2 separate regions of the Homo sapiens genome follow, and region 1 is linked to region 2. The links are contacts of gene promoters, found by promoter capture Hi-C in blood cells and fetal thymus (Javierre and others, 2016). All regions are on one chromosome and are shown on one strand. The core of a region is centred on a gene start or on the middle of the fragment in contact, and the rest is flanking DNA. Distances in the headings are between cores, read along the strand shown.

What was found. Contacts are between HindIII fragments. The CHiCAGO score rates a contact against its expected background, and 5 or more counts as called.
Region 1: a fragment that was not itself captured here is called in contact with the fragment with the promoter of TMEM215 in region 2 in 1 of 17 cell types (non-activated CD4 T cells); the score reaches 5.2 in non-activated CD4 T cells.

Annotation. Positions count from the first base shown.
Region 1 is chr9:32,177,808-32,182,974 of GRCh38, forward strand. No RefSeq gene overlaps it. Among named protein-coding and RNA genes, the nearest start is that of ACO1, 200 kb to the right of the region's middle. The HindIII fragment of the contact is 2,079 bases long and covers 2,139-4,217 here.
Region 2 is chr9:32,782,003-32,787,609 of GRCh38, forward strand. TMEM215 (transmembrane protein 215) reads left to right here and starts at 1,538. Exons shown (of 2, transcript NM_212558.3): 1 at 1,538-1,803; 2 at 2,124-5,607. The coding sequence starts at 2,182. The coding sequence ends at 2,889. It overlaps LOC105376017 (a long non-coding RNA gene), which reads right to left and starts at 904. Exons shown (of 7, transcript XR_929559.2): 1 at 641-904. The HindIII fragment of the contact is 4,873 bases long and covers 1-3,352 here.

The DNA of each region.
Region 1 (5,167 bases), core at 1,928-4,427, 600 kb before region 2:
AAGTCTTCAGGCTTTAGGGAAGAAACATAGTGCTGGTTTTCTATGCATTTAAGACATATGGATAAACAGTTATCCTTTTGTTATCTAACACAAAACCAAACTGTTAAGATTTCAATATATTTTCAATAACCTTTTGAGGTTGTTGGCAGCAGCCCTTGCTCACAGCTCTGATGTTTCATATTTTCTTCCTTTTAATCTCATGGTGATTTATCTCTTTTGGTTTCCAAATATTCTTTATCTTATCCAAGCATTCACTTGTGTGTGGAGCTGCTTCGACCGTATTTGACATGTTTCTTGTGAAATACAAAACTTAATCCTCATGATATTTTAATTGGAATTGAGCTACAAATACAAAACATAAAATAGATACCTGTCACTTCCAAGAGAATGTTGCAGGTCTGCATTTACTCAATATTTTGTCTACACCCTCAATACATGAATAAGTCTTTGAGGTTTAATTTGTGCCAAGAAACATGAATGTCTGCCATTAACTTTCTCTGGACAATTTTTTAAACTATATTTTCCACCTGCTTACTGGTAATACATAAATACTTGTATTGTCTTACTATACTCTCAATTATTACATTTAGATATTACCCTACTTGGAGGCTATAATATGAGTCCAGTTGGAAGAAAAGGTGTCTTGTAATAGAGTGGTAACAGTGGAAATGAAGAAAACCTCAGATTTAAGATATATTTATAAATTATGATTGAGATCACTTGATGGACAGATGTGAGGGTGATAAAGATAGAGATATCGAAGGTGACATTCCTGTTTCTGCCCTGATGTAAGGTGGAGGTATCATTGATGAGAGAAAGAAGACTGAGGAATGGGAGGGAGAAGCAGATGTGGAATGGGAATGAGAGAATTAGTTTAGTTTTATAATAAACTTACACTAAAAACACTTCTTACACAATAATTTGTTATTCCAGTGAAGGAAAGTACTTTGTAGTAAGGCATATCTTTGTGAAAACAGATGATCCATAACAGGAGAGTAACTAAAGACAGCAGGGACGAAGGGCTAATAAGGAGGCCAAGGACCTAAACAGAATATTGGAACCTCCTCTCCCGGGCGGTGTCCTGATGAGGTGAAGAGGTCCACTCAACTTCTTTTTTGATGTAGCTAGAGGAACGATATTGAAATGACATTTAGAACACCCCATTTTCATATCTGACCCATCACAATTACAGACTTCAGTGATGAAAAAATAAAATTTATCTTTCTATACTCAAAACCTGTGGAGCAGGAGACCTCACAGAAATAAAATGTCTAGTTGTTTGAAATATTCTAAATAGTTTTGGCAGTGGAGAAACATTTCCTTCTCAGTGGCACTCCAACATCTTCATGCTGGAGTCATCAGCGTAGTCATTAGCATCTTAACTTAGCTGCAGATACTTTGCATGTGAAGGAGATGGAGAGCATTTCTGAAGGTTTTTGCTGGATGGTCTGGCTGTGATAGAGTGTTGAATGATAGCCTGAGGCACTTCTTGTCTGATTTTGTGCATGGTCCTAATTAGAGAGGAACAATTCTATTGCCAGACAAATGTCTGAGGGATTAATAAGCCAGTTTTGGCTATTATCAGTGCAAATGAGCCACCTAAGTGACAACAGGACAGAAGTGTAGGCTACATTCTCCTCTGCCTTTGCCTGCAAACATGAATTTATATGCAGGCAAACTCTTTCTCAGTCTTCTTAAGGAAACCATCATGGAATGTGTGCGTTTCAAACTTCAGAGTTGATTTCTTTCCAGCCTAGGAGAGTATATAAAGTTACACTAAAAATGAACCTAGGAAAACAAAATCAATTCCACGATAGGAAGAGGAAAAGACCATTTCACTGTATTTATTGCTTTATTACCCTCCCTCCCCACAAAAAAAAAAAAAAGAAAGAAAGAAAGAAAAAAATCCACACCTCCTTGAGCCTCATAGGTATCTCTGCTCCAATAGAGAAGGCAGGAGAAAGGAATAAAAGTAAAATATTTCCAGTATAGCTTCCTTTATGGAATATAAGAACTTTTGGAAAATATAAGAATGACTTAACTAAGTAGCTAATTCTACAAACATGTATTGATGTCCAACTATTAATGAGGTTTTTGTATCCCTGGGTAAACAAAAATGAGGACTGCCTCTGCAGTTAAGCTTAGGTATGTATGGCCAGCCATTAATAAACTTGTAGAACCATACTTTGGGTGCATTCAGTCTCCTTTTCTTTCATACCGTTTATTTTCTTTTTTCCTCATTTTTTTTCATCTATTCAATTATTTACCTTCAAAGTATCTTCTCAGGAAAAGGTTTGACAGCATTTAATGACCTGTTTAAATGTCCAGTCTAAAACAACTAAAATAAGATGAGGGAATTCTCCCCATGGTAATAAAAAGTATACATTTAAGTAAAAAGCCTACAGTGTTATACACATTAGTAAGATTGTTGTCTTAAAACAAGAATCGCTGTTATCAACAATATTTTTAATAATTTTTTTTTAATTCTTTACTTGTGTTTTTCTAATCCGTTTCACAGGTAGCTGAAAGAGTAAATGTAATAAAATGCAATTCTAATCATGTCGCTTCTCCCATGAAAACCTTTCAATCGCATTTTAATGAGCTTAGGATAAAAATCAATCCCTTAAAGTAGCCTTTACTCAACAAGTATTTGCTGAACAGCTAACGTCTGTGCAGCACTGTCGAAGGTACTAAAGATATACCATGAGTAAACACCAGAATGTTGGAGCCAGAAATTCCATACGGCCGTTTTGGATTTTTGTTGTTGCTGCTGCTGTTACTAGTATTTGATAAAGTATTACAGAAAACATTAAAACAAGTGAAACTATGTACTAAGGAGCATAACAACAGTTTTCTACTGTTTAGTGGTTAAGCCTGTTTAGGGATAGAATCTGAAGTATCTAAAGGAGATAGAATAGCATAGGTCATGTAGTACCACTTCTCCCAGCTGGGTTTTTGGCAGAACCTGGAAAAAAAACACTCAAGTCTGAACTTGATGATGACAGCTGACACTACTGAGGTTCCTCTGTGTTTGTTCTTTTTCTAAAATAGTACACAGAATGAGGCTGGCTCATCAAATTTTCTTTTATTTTTAGAAGTAGACAGTGAAGATTCAAACTTCTATTTCTTCTTTCAAGTAAATTTAGATTTCCCGGTATCCTGACTATATATAGCTATTTTTATTTGAAAGCACTTTACACTTAGTTATTCTACAGAAATATGTAGAAGTGTAGTGAGAGCACCAAGAATTAAAATCATGACCATTGGTCTACAGCTCTTGATTCCATTTGGAGATGGCAGCTTGATGTTACAGTCAACTGAGGCCTTCCTAGTATAAGTTCCAAAAGTATGGTCCACCTGCCATCTAAACAAGTGCGTAACTTGATCTCTTCTCCTTCAAGGACATGTTTCAAAGCACAAATGTTAGATGATTGAGTATTTCTCGTTCATGTTTCTGGTGAATTATTTGCATATGTAAGGGCCCTCAGGATGGTGACCCCATTTCATAATTCCTCTGCCATTCCATAAAATCTAATTATGAACATCAATGATCCTGCTAAGGTTTTCTGGAGAGAGGGCACTCCACTTTTATGTGAAGTTGAGCAATTAAGTCTTCAGTATGAAGTGGGACTATATGGCTATTTTCTGCTAAATGGATACATTCCTACTAGAGATGTGATTTTATCAAAGTCATTTAATCACATGATATCTGTGATATAATGTGATATTATATCACATTATATCATTTTTTTACTATAAAATAGGGACGAAAATAGCTATCTTGTCAATTCCATAGAATTTTCAGAGGATAAAATGACATTAGGTTTATGAAAGTACTCTGTAACATTTCCAGGAGTGGGAAGGATATGAAGTTGAGCCCCTCAGACTTGATGGGGAAAAACTACTCTTCATCTGTTGCAAGGAGATTTTGCCTCTCTTTCATTTGGTTTTCCTGTGGGATGTGTATGAAATTTCTGAGTGGAGGGTTAAAATAAGGCTTGCATTTTCAACTCCCATCAATGTTTATCACCAGAAATATATTTTTAACACAGACTCCTCTTTTACCAGAAAATATGTGTATTTAAATCTCTCTAGCTAAAGATATTAGAAAAAATTTTATGTGACTTTAAAATTAGCTCAGTTTAATTTTAGCTGGAGTTATTATCACAACATTAAATCTATTTGGACATTTAAAAAAATACAGAATAAGTTAAGCAAGCTTTATTTTTTTCAGCAAAGCAGAAAAAAAATCAAATCAGAGAAACCAAAAGACTTTTAAAAACAAAACATAAAATTTCACATTCTACTTTCAGTAAAATACTCCAGATGAGAGAACCAAATTGCTTGTTCTCATTTAAATAGCTCAGCAATACCTGAAGTGAATACCACAAGCTTGTTTTTGTGCCACTTATCTCAGATTTGCCTTTTCATGAACATTTTTGAAAGTGGGAATAATGTCAGTGATAGCTTCATCTCATGTTCTGGAAAAATAGAGCAGAAAATTACCCACCTCTGGTGCATTGGTTGCAGAGCTGCCTAAATTATTCAAACAAACCACAGCACCCATGCTTGCACTGATTTTTGAATGATTCTCTTTGATATGAGATAGTTCCCTACAGTGGGCACTCAGCTCTAATCTTCACTGCCCTTTATTTCTCAGAATTTTCTACTCTACAGTTCTGTTTGTACGTCACAGAATTGTAAAAGCCTTGGTTGATTTCTTGACTACCAGAATAAATAGGTAAAAATATTATGTGTTAAAAAGTGAAAGTTCTACGAAGCAAAATAAAGCAGAGTAAGGGATAGAAGTAGTGTTAGGGAGCCAGGGAATACTGGGTGTAAGATGATGAGAGGAGGGGTTGTTTTAGATAGGGTGGTCAGAGAAGGTCACATTTATTTGGAGACATTTGAGCAGAGACTTGAAAGAATTCCTAAGCAAACTATGGAAATATTTGGGGGAAGAACATTCCAGGCAGATAATACTGCATGTGCAAATGTTCTGAGAGACAAGGGGTGACTAGCATGTTAAAGGAACCCCAATAAGGCCCATTTGGATCAAGTGAAAATGGGTAGCAGGGAGATGAGACTGGGGTGCAGGGAGCTGTGGGCATTATAGGCAATTGAATTTTACTGTGAGTGAAGTGGGGGGGTTCTGAGCAAAAGATAA
Region 2 (5,607 bases), core at 288-2,787:
TCTTGCCCGGCTTACTGAACTTCTCAGCTTACTGAACAAGACTCCCGGCTTCCAGACTTACCAGCTCCAACCTATGCTCTCACCTGCCGCCCCTTTCAGTCAAACTGGAATGTTTTTGTATTGATCTTTGCTTAAAATACATCAAGCGTTCTTCATTGCCTAGTGGATAAAAAGTCCTTAGTCTCACAGCCTTTATGATTTGTTTGGCTCCTGTCATACATGATGAAGACACTAATTATGATGACAAATATATATACATATACATGTGTACGTGTGTGCATGTGTGTGTAATTTTTGTACACAGACTATGTACCAAGCATTGTGCTAGGAACTTTACGTTTATTTAATCCTCACAATGTTTCCTCATATATTTGGTATTAATCTCATTTTACAGATAGGACGACTGATTCTCAGAGAGGTTAAGTCACTTGCCCAGGAATATACAGCTAGTTTAACTGGGGAAGGCCTGGATGTGAAAATTCTTTCCAGTAAATCAGTGTCTTGACATGAAAGCATGTACCGCTCATCAACCTGTTCTCCACCGCCCTCCTCTATCCTAAATGGGCAGCCCTGTTGAAGAATCACAGCCAAAGCCAGTCTTGCCCCCCGGGGCCAGAGGAATCCATCTGCCCCTGCCTACCAGAGCGGGAGGAACGCAGGCTCTCAATGCCTGCTTCAGCAAGGGAGGAGAGAATCGCCCAGAGCTGAGCGGCGTCGTAGGGTGGTGGTCCTGACCGGTCAAGGCCCCTTCTCCTCGTGAACTGGGGGCCAGGGAGCCCTTCTCCCTGTCCCCCCGGCACCACAGCGCTGTAGAAGTGAAATCCCGGCTCCAAGGTCACCCTCTCCCGAGCCTGGAGCTGGAAAGCCACGGGGACTCCGGGGACTCCCCCAAGGCCCGGACTAGCCTGGCACCCACCCCTCACCACTAACCCACTCCGCCTGGGCGCTGGTTCTGTGCGCTCCCGCGGCGCAGTCGCTCCGCTGCAAGAGCGCTTTCGCGCGCCGCCACCGCCCAGAGCCGGGACCAAAGCAGTCCTCGGGCACCGGCTCCCCGAGGGACACACACCCCCCCGCGCCCCGAGTCGAGGGGTTGAGAGAAGGGCGGTCGGGGAGCCCCTGGGCCTGCCGTCAGTCACCCGGATTTGTAACTGGAGAAGGGTGCGGGTCCCGGAGGGACATCTCCAGCTGGCACCTAACTCCTCGGATCCCGGACTGGGAGCCCGAGCTCGGATATTGCAACGGCTGCCCCGTGGGCAAACCGACCCTGGTTTCCGACTCCGGCCACTGGCAGCCTCGCGCCCCAGACCCTTCCCGGGCACGGAAGCGGGTCAGGTCGCCCTGCTCAGCCTCCGGAACGGCGGCGGCACAAACCCCGGCCGCTCCCAGCAGCCCCGACGAGACCCCGGGCAGCGCCTGCCGCCGGGTGGCCTCCCTCTGGGGCTGACCCCCTCGCGCCCCCGCGCGTCTGTCTGCGTTTCTGAGCCTGCTCTGACAGTGATGTAACAAGGCCAGGCTCGCGCCGCGTCCCCTCTTTCCCAGACTCAGTGCTCCCTCCTCCTCCCGCGCCCCGCGCTCTGCGCGCTGAGCTGGCGCCGGGCTCCGCTTGCACAGCACCGGGACCGACGGGCACTGCTGGGAGAGCCGCTCTCCCAGGTTCCACCTCCCCGATGCAGAGTCCGTGGGGGAAACCAGGCTTTCCTCCCAGAACCAAGGGAGCGAGCCGAGGGGGCAGCTGCTGTGGGGGCTTCTGAGGAGACAGCCTGGCTTCTTTCCCTACTTCCTGGAGAGGGCAGGAAACCTCAGGTACCTCGTTGACCCCAGCCGGAGCGTGTTGATATGAGAGAGAGACGGAGGTTGCAATAGTGAGAGGAAGAGAGGGAGGGCACAAGAAAGGGAGGGAGGGAGAGGGGACGGAGAGAAAGAGTAGAAATAGAAACAGGGAGAGATTGCAAGAGAAACGCAGAGAGAGAGATAGAGAGATTGCAAGAGAGATACAGAGACAGAGATCAAGACTGAAAGTCAAGAAGCAAGTCGGAGACAAAGGGCAAGAGAAAGACAAGAGTTGATGGGTGGGAGCTTGACTTGGATTTTTTTTTAACGCACTGTGGTTTCATCTCTGACAGAATAGAGGAACGCTGCTCCCTGGTCAGCAAGCAGCCCCCAACCTGGATGGAGTGAAACATGCGGCCTGATGACATTAACCCGAGGACTGGGCTGGTGGTGGCCCTGGTCAGTGTCTTCCTCGTCTTTGGTTTCATGTTCACCGTCTCTGGGATGAAAGGGGAGACTTTGGGAAACATCCCCCTCCTGGCCATCGGGCCAGCCATCTGCCTACCAGGCATCGCAGCCATTGCCCTGGCCAGGAAAACCGAGGGATGCACCAAGTGGCCAGAGAACGAGCTGCTGTGGGTCCGCAAATTGCCCTGCTTCCGGAAACCCAAAGACAAGGAGGTGGTAGAGCTGCTGAGGACCCCTTCAGACCTAGAATCCGGCAAGGGGAGCTCAGATGAGCTGGCTAAGAAGGCGGGCCTCAGGGGGAAGCCTCCCCCACAAAGCCAGGGTGAGGTGTCCGTGGCCAGCTCCATCAACAGCCCCACACCCACGGAGGAAGGAGAATGCCAGAGCCTCGTCCAGAATGGGCATCAGGAGGAGACGTCCAGATACCTGGACGGCTACTGCCCCTCGGGCAGTTCCCTCACCTACAGTGCCTTGGACGTCAAGTGCTCAGCAAGGGACAGATCTGAGTGCCCTGAGCCTGAGGATAGCATCTTCTTTGTGCCCCAGGACAGTATCATCGTTTGCTCCTACAAGCAGAACAGCCCGTATGACAGATACTGTTGTTATATCAATCAGATACAAGGCAGGTGGGACCACGAGACCATCGTCTAATCTCTGCCTACAAAGGTGGCTGGATTGATAGAATATGACTAAGCCCAGCTCCCCGTGGAAGCAAATTGCTCTGCTTGGAGAGCCTTCACACTGTTAGAAATTGACCTGGTATGTGATGGGTGTGATAACCTCTGGTACCCGAGAGTCATGTAAATAGGCATGTTGGGGACACATTTTAGGGAAGGGCGATGAGGGTTAAGGACACTGGAAGAGGCAGTGGGTAGGAAAGGAAGCTACTCCAGTTGCTTCTTAACAATTTACACAATGTTAAATGTTTTGTAAAATAACCCAAAAAGTGCTATCCAGAACCAGCTGAGAGCAAGATAAATCTAGAGTGGGCTGCAGATGTGAGGCATCAAATGATGCATGAGCTGACCACAGGGAAACTGAGCTGCTTTATGTTTGAATAAGTTGAAAATAAAATTAATGATCCGTTATATAAAGTAATTTTTGCCTGGTTAAAAGCTTATCACACTTGGTATTTGCTGAAAGAAAAAAAAATCAAGATACAAGAGTTAAACCCTCCTTAGATGGGATGGTTTTTGGGAAAAGGGTAGTTAAAGAGAGTTGGATTATGTAACTGAGTCTTGTGGCATTATTGTCTGACAAGATCATGGTCTCTAATAAAGTAAAATAAGTGTGAGCAGCTATGTGAAAAGTTAACATTTTTAGATGGCTATGTTACTTCTTAAACTCTTCGTTTAAATCCATTTATTGCATCTTTATCTGAAATGGGTTTTTTCTAAACATTTACTATCATTCATGTATTATTTCCTTACCAGGTGCAACATTATTTGAAATGATACTTTCATAGATTGGAATTTGTTTTCATCAAGACAAAATGAATTTTACATATATATCCAAGTCTTTAACATTGGCAGACATGTACTGATAATTACCATTCCTACATACCTTTTAAAATCTGAAAACTATAAAGTCTACACATTAGCCTTGAACATTGCACATAATTTGTATGAAATGCAATGGTTAAACCTTTGGAAGTGTCATTATTTGTACATTTGTTCAACTCCTCTCACAGACTGTAAATGCCAGTGAAACAAGAACTCATCTACTAAATTTAACTGAAGCCTAGATTTTATTAAGCTCACCTGATCAGTGAACATTACATGATAAAAGTCTCTTTATTTCATACATTTTTGCTGCTGAGGAAAACAACAAATCACAATGATATCCTAAAATGTGCTTTCTATTTCACTTGCTCAACTGCAATAGATAAGAAGGCTATCAAGCAGAATGCCATTTGATCCCCGGTGAAGAAAAATATGAATTATATATAGGAATGGTGATAGAGTTCATCTTGAAGATCAGAAGTATTTTGTATCCTTCAAAGAATGATCATTTTAAGTGATCATATAGTCTTAGTCACTTTCTCCCAAAAGGGGAATTGAGGACAAAAATTTGGGCATATATGTTTTGTGTATTTCAATTCCAACTCTGCAATTCTTTCTTAAGTATAGCAATTGTTCTGTCTTAAGAATCATGGTATTTTTAAAAAATCATAATTTTCAAGTCAAGTTCAAGATCAAAAATATGTAATTATTTTAGTAGGGCTTAAATATCAGAAATGAGATGCATGATCTTGGGCAAATTTTATCTTCTTACACCTGAGTTTCCTACTCTGTGAAGGGAGGGGGAACTGATTTACACTTGATTATTTCTATCATTCATTTTCAGTGTAAATATTCTATGGTGTTATGTCAAAGGCATTTTATATATTGCCAGGAAATGAGTTACAGCAAAATGCATGCCAAAGTTATGAAATTTATGATAATTATGTGACATACATTGCACAGCTACTACTCAAAAAAGAATTTTGTAGATGTATGAAAGCAGATTATTCAACACAATGCATTCCTGAGAATAAAATGAACATAATCAGAGTAAAATATTTTTGAGGAGAAAACTTAAAATGTTGGTATAACTCAAAGTAATCTAATACACAACCTTGCACTAAATGTGATTGACATTTGGATTTGGGATGGGGAGAGATAGTTTCCTAAAATCACAGTAACTTTTAATAATTGTAATGCATTTTGAAAACAGAGAATCATATTTTTATAATGGTGAGAACTATGCAATAACTCTTTAGGAATGAAAACTTCCTTTAAGAAGTTTGCCACCGTTAGAGATGAGGAGATAGTGAGACAGAGAGATGTTCACAGAGACTCAGCAAATCTTAGACAATAATGCTGCAATTTTCTGAAAGAAGATGCTTGCAGTGTCAGGTATGGTTTGGGGGTTGGAAAAGTTACTTTTCTGATTTCTTGGAACCATTTAAAACTCCTTTATATCATTCTGTCTCTTTCCAAATTGAGGGTCAACTACTAGTTTAGAGATATAAGGTATTTTATCTTGTTTTCAAGTTCTACTTCAGAAGAAAACCTATTTCATGTTTCTTCTCCCATTACCTACTTAAGATACTTAAGGTATTTAAGTATGCATTTGAGGAAATATTTTCCTGTGCTAAAATAAAGGTTTGCAAATGTTGGTGTGAGAGGTTTTAACTTTGACCAGTGAGAATAAAATGTATGATTGTGTGTGTGAATTTCTCCTAACATATTAACCAACTCCTTTCTATATGCAACAAGGTAACCTGGTGCCCCAAATCAATACTTGTAAGTACTATTCAGAGTTAAACTTCCAAAGTCAAAAAATATATATACACAAAAAAAGGGGAAAAGCCACATTTTTTTGAAC